Linked DNA regions of Homo sapiens: region 1 is linked to region 2. Evidence: promoter capture Hi-C in human tissues and cell types (Jung and others, 2019). All regions are on one chromosome and are shown on one strand. The core of a region is centred on a gene start or on the middle of the fragment in contact, and the rest is flanking DNA. Distances in the headings are between cores, read along the strand shown. Region 1 has its middle 64 kb from the start of LINC01720. Region 2 holds the start of BRINP3 (BMP/retinoic acid inducible neural specific 3).

Evidence for each region. Contacts are between HindIII fragments. The study calls those that stand out against the background at their distance.
Region 1: a fragment that was not itself captured here is called in contact with the fragment with the promoter of BRINP3 in region 2 in 2 of the 25 tissues and cell types used here (H1 embryonic stem cells and heart left ventricle).

The regions. Positions count from the first base shown.
Region 1 is chr1:190,558,511-190,562,447 of GRCh38, forward strand. No RefSeq gene overlaps it. Among named protein-coding and RNA genes, the nearest start is that of LINC01720, 64 kb to the right of the region's middle. The HindIII fragment of the contact is 9,959 bases long and covers 1-3,937 here.
Region 2 is chr1:190,476,554-190,480,311 of GRCh38, forward strand. It overlaps BRINP3 (BMP/retinoic acid inducible neural specific 3), which reads right to left and starts at 1,311. Exons shown (of 8, transcript NM_199051.3): 1 at 895-1,311. It overlaps BRINP3-DT (BRINP3 divergent transcript), which reads left to right and starts at 1,707. Exons shown (of 3, transcript NR_110716.1): 1 at 1,707-1,939; 2 at 2,529-2,587. The HindIII fragment of the contact is 15,526 bases long and covers 1-3,758 here.

The sequences.
Region 1 (3,937 bases), core at 535-3,034, 82 kb after region 2:
TCCCCACTTTTGGACTTAGAGCCTATTGAGAGGTGTTTAGGTCATGGAGACAGACTCCTCATGAATGGCTTGGTGCTGTCCTTGTGGCAATGAGTGAGTTCTCCCTCTATTATTACAGTTCTCAGGAGACAGCTAGGTGTTAAAAATGGCCTGGCACCTACCTCCTTCCCTCTCTCTCTTACTTCCTCACTAGCCATGTGATCTCTGCATGCTGGCCCCCTTAGGTATTTGCCATGAGTGAAAGCAGCTTGAGCCCCTCACCAGAAGCTAAGCAGATGCCCATGCCATGCTTCCTGAACAGTCTGGTGAACCATAAACCAAATAAAATTATTTTCTTCATAAGTTATCCAACCTTAAGTATTCCTTTATGACAAAAATGGACTAAGACAGGCTGTATAAAAATTGGTGTTAATTTATGGTTGGATTCATGACATATTAAGACTATTCATTGCTTCTCACCCACAGAATGTGTACTTCCCTTTTAGGATATATCTAATGAGGTACTGCTTTATTAATTTTGTTTGTATATCTTACCAATATCAAAGAAATATCAAAGTCATCCCCTTAAAATTATTCACCACGTATTTCCATGTATGTATGAGTTTCTTATTGCTGCTGTAAAAAATAACCCCCACTTGAGGCTTAAAATAATGGAATTTTTTAAATTTTATGTTTCTGGAGGGGTCAGAAATCATAAATGGGCCTCACTGGACTAAAATCAAGGTGTTGGCAGGGTTGCATTATTTTCTGGAATCCACTCTCTTGCCTTTTCCAGTTGGTAGCATTCTTTAGTTCCTAGCCATCCTCCTTCTCCAAAACCAACAATGGCAAGTAGAGTCTTTCCAAAGGCTGGTGGAGTCTTTCTGATAACATAGGCATCACTCTGACATCATGCTTCTGCTCCATCTTCCACATGTAAGGACCCCTGTGGTTAGATTGGAATGACCAGATAATCCAGGGTAATCTCCCTGTTTTAAAGTCACCTAATTAGCAATGTAATTCCATCTGTTACCTTAATTCCTCTTGCCATAGAATTTAACTATTTCACAAGTTTCAGATATCAGGACATGAACACATTTGGTAGACCATTGTTTTGCCTTCAATAATATATTTTAATCAAAGTAGTAGATTAAAGAGTATATTTGTAGTAATTAGTTGTTTGTTATTAAATGAAACTTTCAAACGTTCCAATTTAAAAAATTAGAATAGGCCAGGCACATTGGCTCATGCCTTTAATCCCAGCACTTTGAGAGGCCAAGGGGGCAGATCACAGGAATTTGAGATCAGCCTGGCCAACATGGTGGAACCCTGTCTCTACTAAAAATAAAAAAGAATTAGCTGGGCGTGGTGTGGCACACACCTGTAATTTCAACTACTCCGGTGGCTGAGGCAAGCAACTGAATCGCTTGAACCTGGGAGGCGGAGGTTGCAGTGAGCTGAGATCGCACCACTGCACTCCAGCCTGGGTGACAGAGAGACCCTCTCTAAAATTAAAAATAAATCAATTAATTAAATTTATACAAAGCCTCCTAAGGTGTCAGATTCTTTTCTGAGAATATTTTATTTTCTGAAATATATACAGTATAGTGGCTACTACATACTACCTATAAAATACTGTATATACTACCTATAAAATAGTGAGATAACTTGTGGAATTTAACTTACATGTATGTTTAATTTACTCGGTAAAACACAGAGAATAATTCAAAAGCTTTTCATTTACAACATATACAAATGACTTTAGATAATTTGAAAGCAGTATAAGAATGGAGCAAAATTGCTATTATTAAGCAATAAATTCTACATGTTTGTATACACAGTTTTAGTTTTAGTGAACACTCAGCAAAATTTGATGCTACATTACTGCCCACATACTTTTCTCTGTACAATATTTCTCCCAAGTCAGCAATCAATCTATTCTTTCAAATTAATGTTACTTCTAACAAGAGACCAAATCAAACTATGGCCAAGTTCCAGGGATCTTATTTCCTGTTCCTATATACTCTATTGAAATTTATTTGCAGCACTAGCATGCTGATGGCAGTAAATCTGCTTATTTGGAGAGAATATAATGGATGTCATGTAAATAAAAAACACTTATGGGAAAGTGTTATGTGAATACAATTTCTGTTTTGATCTTCAAGATGAAATATTAATGGAAATACTTTTCTAATAATGTTGCTCATTGAAAAAGTAATTAGAATAAAATTCTAACACTCTGTCAAGTGTTTATAGTTGAGGGTTATGTTAGTGATGTCTAAGTTTCCAGTGTGCTAATTTTATATTGCTATTTATACAGCAGGAAAGATTAAAGACAACTCTTCTTTTTTTGATTGTACTCCATATATATCAAAAGAATCATCTGATTACTTACTTCAAAGAGACCCTATTGCCTGAATGTCCTCCTTATGAATATGTTCATGGCAATATTTAATTCATATCTTTAGATTTATTTGCCTATGACATAACAGATGAGCTAAGCCAGATATTGTATTTAAATGTATCAAAAAGAAGGTCAAGTGATTATAATATGTTTTAAATTTACAATTTATTCTCTGAAAATGATTTTGTTTACTGTTCTGCCTATAGAAAACTTTATTCTATTGAAGATATACTTAGTTTTGTTTCAATTTTTCTGAAACCAAACATTCAAATAAATGTGCAAAAATACAATACAAAAATAGAAAGGATTTTTATGCAAATATTAATAATAACAAAAGGAGAAGTGATCGATATTTTAACTTCAAAAAACAGAGGCCCTGTGACCTAAGACTTATATAAATCTATCCTGAAGAAACATCACATTATTTGCACAAATACATATGTACATGGCTGTTCAGTGCACCATCATTTACAGAGTTAAATAATAAAAAAGCTACTTGGAAGTTTCTAAATGCCCAGGACTATAGCTACCCTTCTTCCCTCTATTCTGGCCCTCCTACCATTCACACTGCACACAGAAACAGAATGATTTTAAAAATATGTAAATCAAATAATCTCTACGTCACTGATTTTGAGTTTTCCACTGAATTTAGCATAAAATCAAGTTCTGTAACATTGTTTGCAAAGCTCTGCAAGAGTGGACCCTTAACCAACTCTCTAGTACCTTCTGTTATAATTCATGCCTCCAATAACTTCTTTTTTAACTCTCAAAATAACATATCTCTTAAAGTCCTTTCACCTTTTGTTCGCTTTAATTTTTTCTCTTTCCCTAATTCTTTTGCTGACTGGCTTCTCTCATTTTACATGTCTGAACTCAAATATCAACTTCCTGGGGAGGCTTTCCTTAATCAAATATCCTAAAGTAATTGTTTTACCCCTTATTACTCATTATCATGTAAATATGCTTATTTCTTTTGTAGCACTTTTTCATTCGGAGTTTTTCTATTTGTTTACTTCTTTACTATTTTACCTGCCAGAATATGAGTGTTATGATGAAACAGATTGTGTCTGTGTTGCACCTGAGTTTCTAATGCCCATAGGATTAGAATCAGGATAATGGTATGGCACTTAATAAATAATTGTTGAAAGACTAATATAAATTATGGCTTGTAATCATGGAATCCCAAAGCAGTCTATAAAATATTATGTACATTTGTAGATGCTGGAATTTGAAGATCTCTGAAATATCTTATCAAGTATATAAAAATCTAATTCAATAGTATAAATTTATGCAGCAAATTTTATTGAATACTTCATGCAAGACTTGTAGTAAAACTTCCATTCTAAGATTATTAAAAAGAACAAAAATAAGCACAATATACACAAACTAGAAAAAGCAAACTTATCTTCTATTATGGGGTAAATTGATTTGTATGACAACTATAAACAATAGTTACATATAGATGAACACATTTATATTGCTCATATATGTGTGTTGCTGTAATGAGTAGAATGGCATATTCCAAATGACTAAGGTTATATTTTGGGAAATAAG
Region 2 (3,758 bases), core at 61-2,560:
TTCATAAAAGCAAAAGGCACTGACCATATTAACATGCCTATTAAACACAAGGGTTGGGGGCAGACAAGTATGAAGAGTGAGGCAATTAAATTTTTCATGTAAAGTCTATTCTTGAATTTCAATTTATCAGAACCAAGATAATCAGGGGTTTCTTCTGATTGCTCCTCTCTGAAATGAGTACTCTGTGTCCAATTAACTGTTCACCAGCTAATTCACAAAATCAGAAATGTACTGACAAATACTATGCCTGAATTAAAATACAATGCCTAAAATAACGTGCTTATGTGTGATTTGAAATATTTTAAGAAAAAAAAATGGTGCCCTCAAAACTCACAGTCCTCTTCCTACCATTCAGTGGCATTTTAGTGCTTAAGGTCTTGCTAAATTCATAAAAATACACTTTGCAACAAAGTCTTCCTTCAGTCATGTAATTGCTTATCATGAACAAATGCTGACCTGAACAACCTTCTGAATATCCGACTAGCGAACTTTCCAGACCTTGCAATTGTCAGAAGGTCTCTTTTAAGCTCTCTCTTAGATAAACCTATAAAATGTGACATTTCAAATGGCACAGGAATGTGTGCCAAGAAGGGTTAATGGGGGTGGGGGCGATTAATGTCCGTGTAACCCATAATATAAATGAGGACAAATATTTTAAAAATAAAGAAGGTAAAAGATATTGGGGTAATACATGGGATATTGGGGTAATACATTACATGGGTTATGTCTTAGCAGTGCAGTTGCCACTAACATACTAATTAATAAATATGGCCATATGGATCTTTCAGTTCTGAAAGTAACAAAAATGTGAAAAATGAAATACTTCAACAAAACAGAGCTTATTAAAAATAGCAATAGTTAAGTTTCTAGTAACAGATAAAGAGAATAACTTACCAGAGGAAATTTCAGGAAGCAAGAAGACTGTGAGAAAAATACATCCAGGATTCAAATAGATATTCCATGATCTTCCAAATCAAGGTAAAGTAGTGAGCTGCAGGGTAGTAGGACTTTAAAATAATCAGCAGTTCCTGGTGGCATGTAACCAAGTAAAAACCAGTTACACAGAGAGCCACGAACCCCCAAGGCAAGAAAGCAGAATGTGAAAATGCTTTATATGGGGGGGTGGGGAATGGTGGGGGGTGATTCGTGGTGATCCTTAAGCAAAGTGAAAATTTACAGGCTGCACATCCCCATACAGTGGGGAAAGGCAGAAGCTGTGTAACCCCAGAGAACAGGAGGTGGAATACAGATAAATCTGCAAAGAGAAGTAAAAGGATGTGTTGAAGACAACGAGATAAAGAGAGAACTAGTGAGCAAGGCTGTAGTCATCCTGATAGATATAGCAGCAAGAATGATTTAGGCTGCTGGGGAGGATCCAATGAGAATTCAAGAGGGCACCACTTCGGAAATCCTGCTCTGATCTTCCCACTCTCAGTTCTTTAAGAGTTACCTGCGTTGGGACCATTATCATTAGGATTAATAGTATTCCATCAGTGCATTTCACTAGTATTTCCCTTGAACATTTTCACTTGCAGCAACTGAGGGAGGCGTAGTAAGGAAGCCCAACACAACCAATTCCCCCACTCCCCAAATAAACCACTACGACCGGTCACATTACGATGACCAAATCATCAGCGATTTGCACGAGGCGGTGGGGGGTGGGGGGTGCGGGCGGTGATCGAAGGGCTGAAGATGCGGAGGAGGCCGAGTCGCTAGGCGCTTTCGGGGGCGCTGTGCCGGTGAGGCTTAGGCAAGGGGACGGGGAACCGTGGTTAGATGCAGCAGCGGCGGCAGCAGCCCTCCCAGGTCCCACTTCTTTGGCGTTCCTGCTGCCTGTGACTCAAGACAATTGACTTCCACCTGAACCCTCAGCTCCGAACGCCTTGCATTAGAAGCTAGAGCTTTGGAGGTTCTGAGGACGGTCCCTGGGGAGCAAGTGGTAGGTTTCGAGGCGCCCGCTTCCCCTCTGATTCCTGCAGTAACTGAGAGAGAGTGTGCCAGAAATGGCTTTGCTGCCGAATGCATTATCTTGCCATTTTCGTGTCCCAATACTGAACAAACGATCGCCTGATCGATCGGTAAGATTAGCTTTATTCCTTCTCCCTATTCCTCTCCTTGGCCCCATTCCCTCTGCAAGTCCAAACCCCAGTCTCTCTCTCTCTCTCTCTCTCCCTCCCTCTCTCTCTCTCTCTCTCTCTCTCCAGGAACTTCTTCCTCTTTGAAACCGGTTTCCCAAGGGAACTGCCTGTGTGACTGAGAGGCTAGTAATCTGTTTGTAGATGATTTATATTTTGGCTGCAGAATGAATCCCCCTCCCTACTCGGAGTACTCTCCTTAGAGATGATCCCCCGCCCCCTCCCCATGGGTTCGCTCTCAGAGCTGGGATCTGTATAAAGAGCGCTGTGGGAGTCTTTTGCCCTCCGCTCTAGCTCTATCTTCCTCCGGACCCCGAAGCTTAAGAATTATCCGCCTCACTCTCTTTTTTAGAAATAGGAGGGAAAGGTAGAGTGGAAATTGATTTCTTGCAGAGACTGAGGCGCTGAATGATAGAGGGAATAAACATTTGCCCTGGATAAAAATGTTCTTGGTAAGTAATCTTATTTTCTGCGGTTGAAAAAGAAACAGATTGCTTCTCACTGCCCCATCCCCCACTCCATTCATTTATTTGCTCTCTGTATGTAAATCACGAGCTGGGTCAGTGGAAATTTTTTTTTCCTCTTCCCTAGGAGAGTAGTAGCTTGTAAGGGTGAAATTGAAGTAGAGGGTTTTAAGGAGACAATATGAACGCTTTAAGGTCCTTTATATCCTGCATTAAAAACTCAAAGACAGATAAAGCAGTTAAATCCCTGTTTGTTTCCAAAAGTGGTATTTAAGTATTTCCCTTATTTCCTACTAACTGTCTTTCCTTTCTGAAAATAAAGAAAAGAGTTTTAGGTAGTGGGCTCATGTCTATGCTTTTAGTATGTCTTGGCCATGTTCTGAAATACAATTTCAGTTCCAAAATTAAGAATGGTTATTTTTCACATTTCGCAGGTATATTAAAGCTATAGAAACCACTTATTAAATGTGCATCTCGGTTCCAATTATTGCACCAGATACAAATTAGTAGTATCCACAATGGCATATTGTGGTGGTACTACAAATTCATAAAGCCCTCTGGTTTTCCATGAGTCTCTAGCACCCCCAGCCTGTGCACGCTCACAATGTGAAGAGTGGATTGGTGTAGCAGTAGGGAAGAAGCCAAACGGCTCTTGATTGTGCTTACATCATATGTCATTAAGTGTAGAGAATAACATGTTTTGCAAATTGTGTGAACTTGGTTTTCAAGAGTAAGCTGACCATTTTTGATGCACAAAATTAAGGGAGATTTGCTCTCAGAAAAATCATTGCATTTTTAATTATAAAATATATTTTACTGGTAAAACATTTAAATTAAACTTTCTTGTCTATTGTTATTATCCTACTGCAATTTATTATCCTCTAAATTTAATGACAAAGAATAAGCTAATTGGCACAAAATGCATTCCTGATGAAAACAGGATGACTGAAAAATCATCTGAAATGTATAATACTAAAATGTTATTGGTAAGATAAACTTCATTTTAGAAAATCAGTATTCTAGAAATCAGTAGTATAAAATTTCAGAAGAGAGGTAGTCAAGTGGCATATTGCAAGACAAAATATGTTTGTTCTCAACTATCTATATAGTCTTTATAGCCATCAACATTTGCAAGAGAAAAAAAATTCACTAAGGGCAT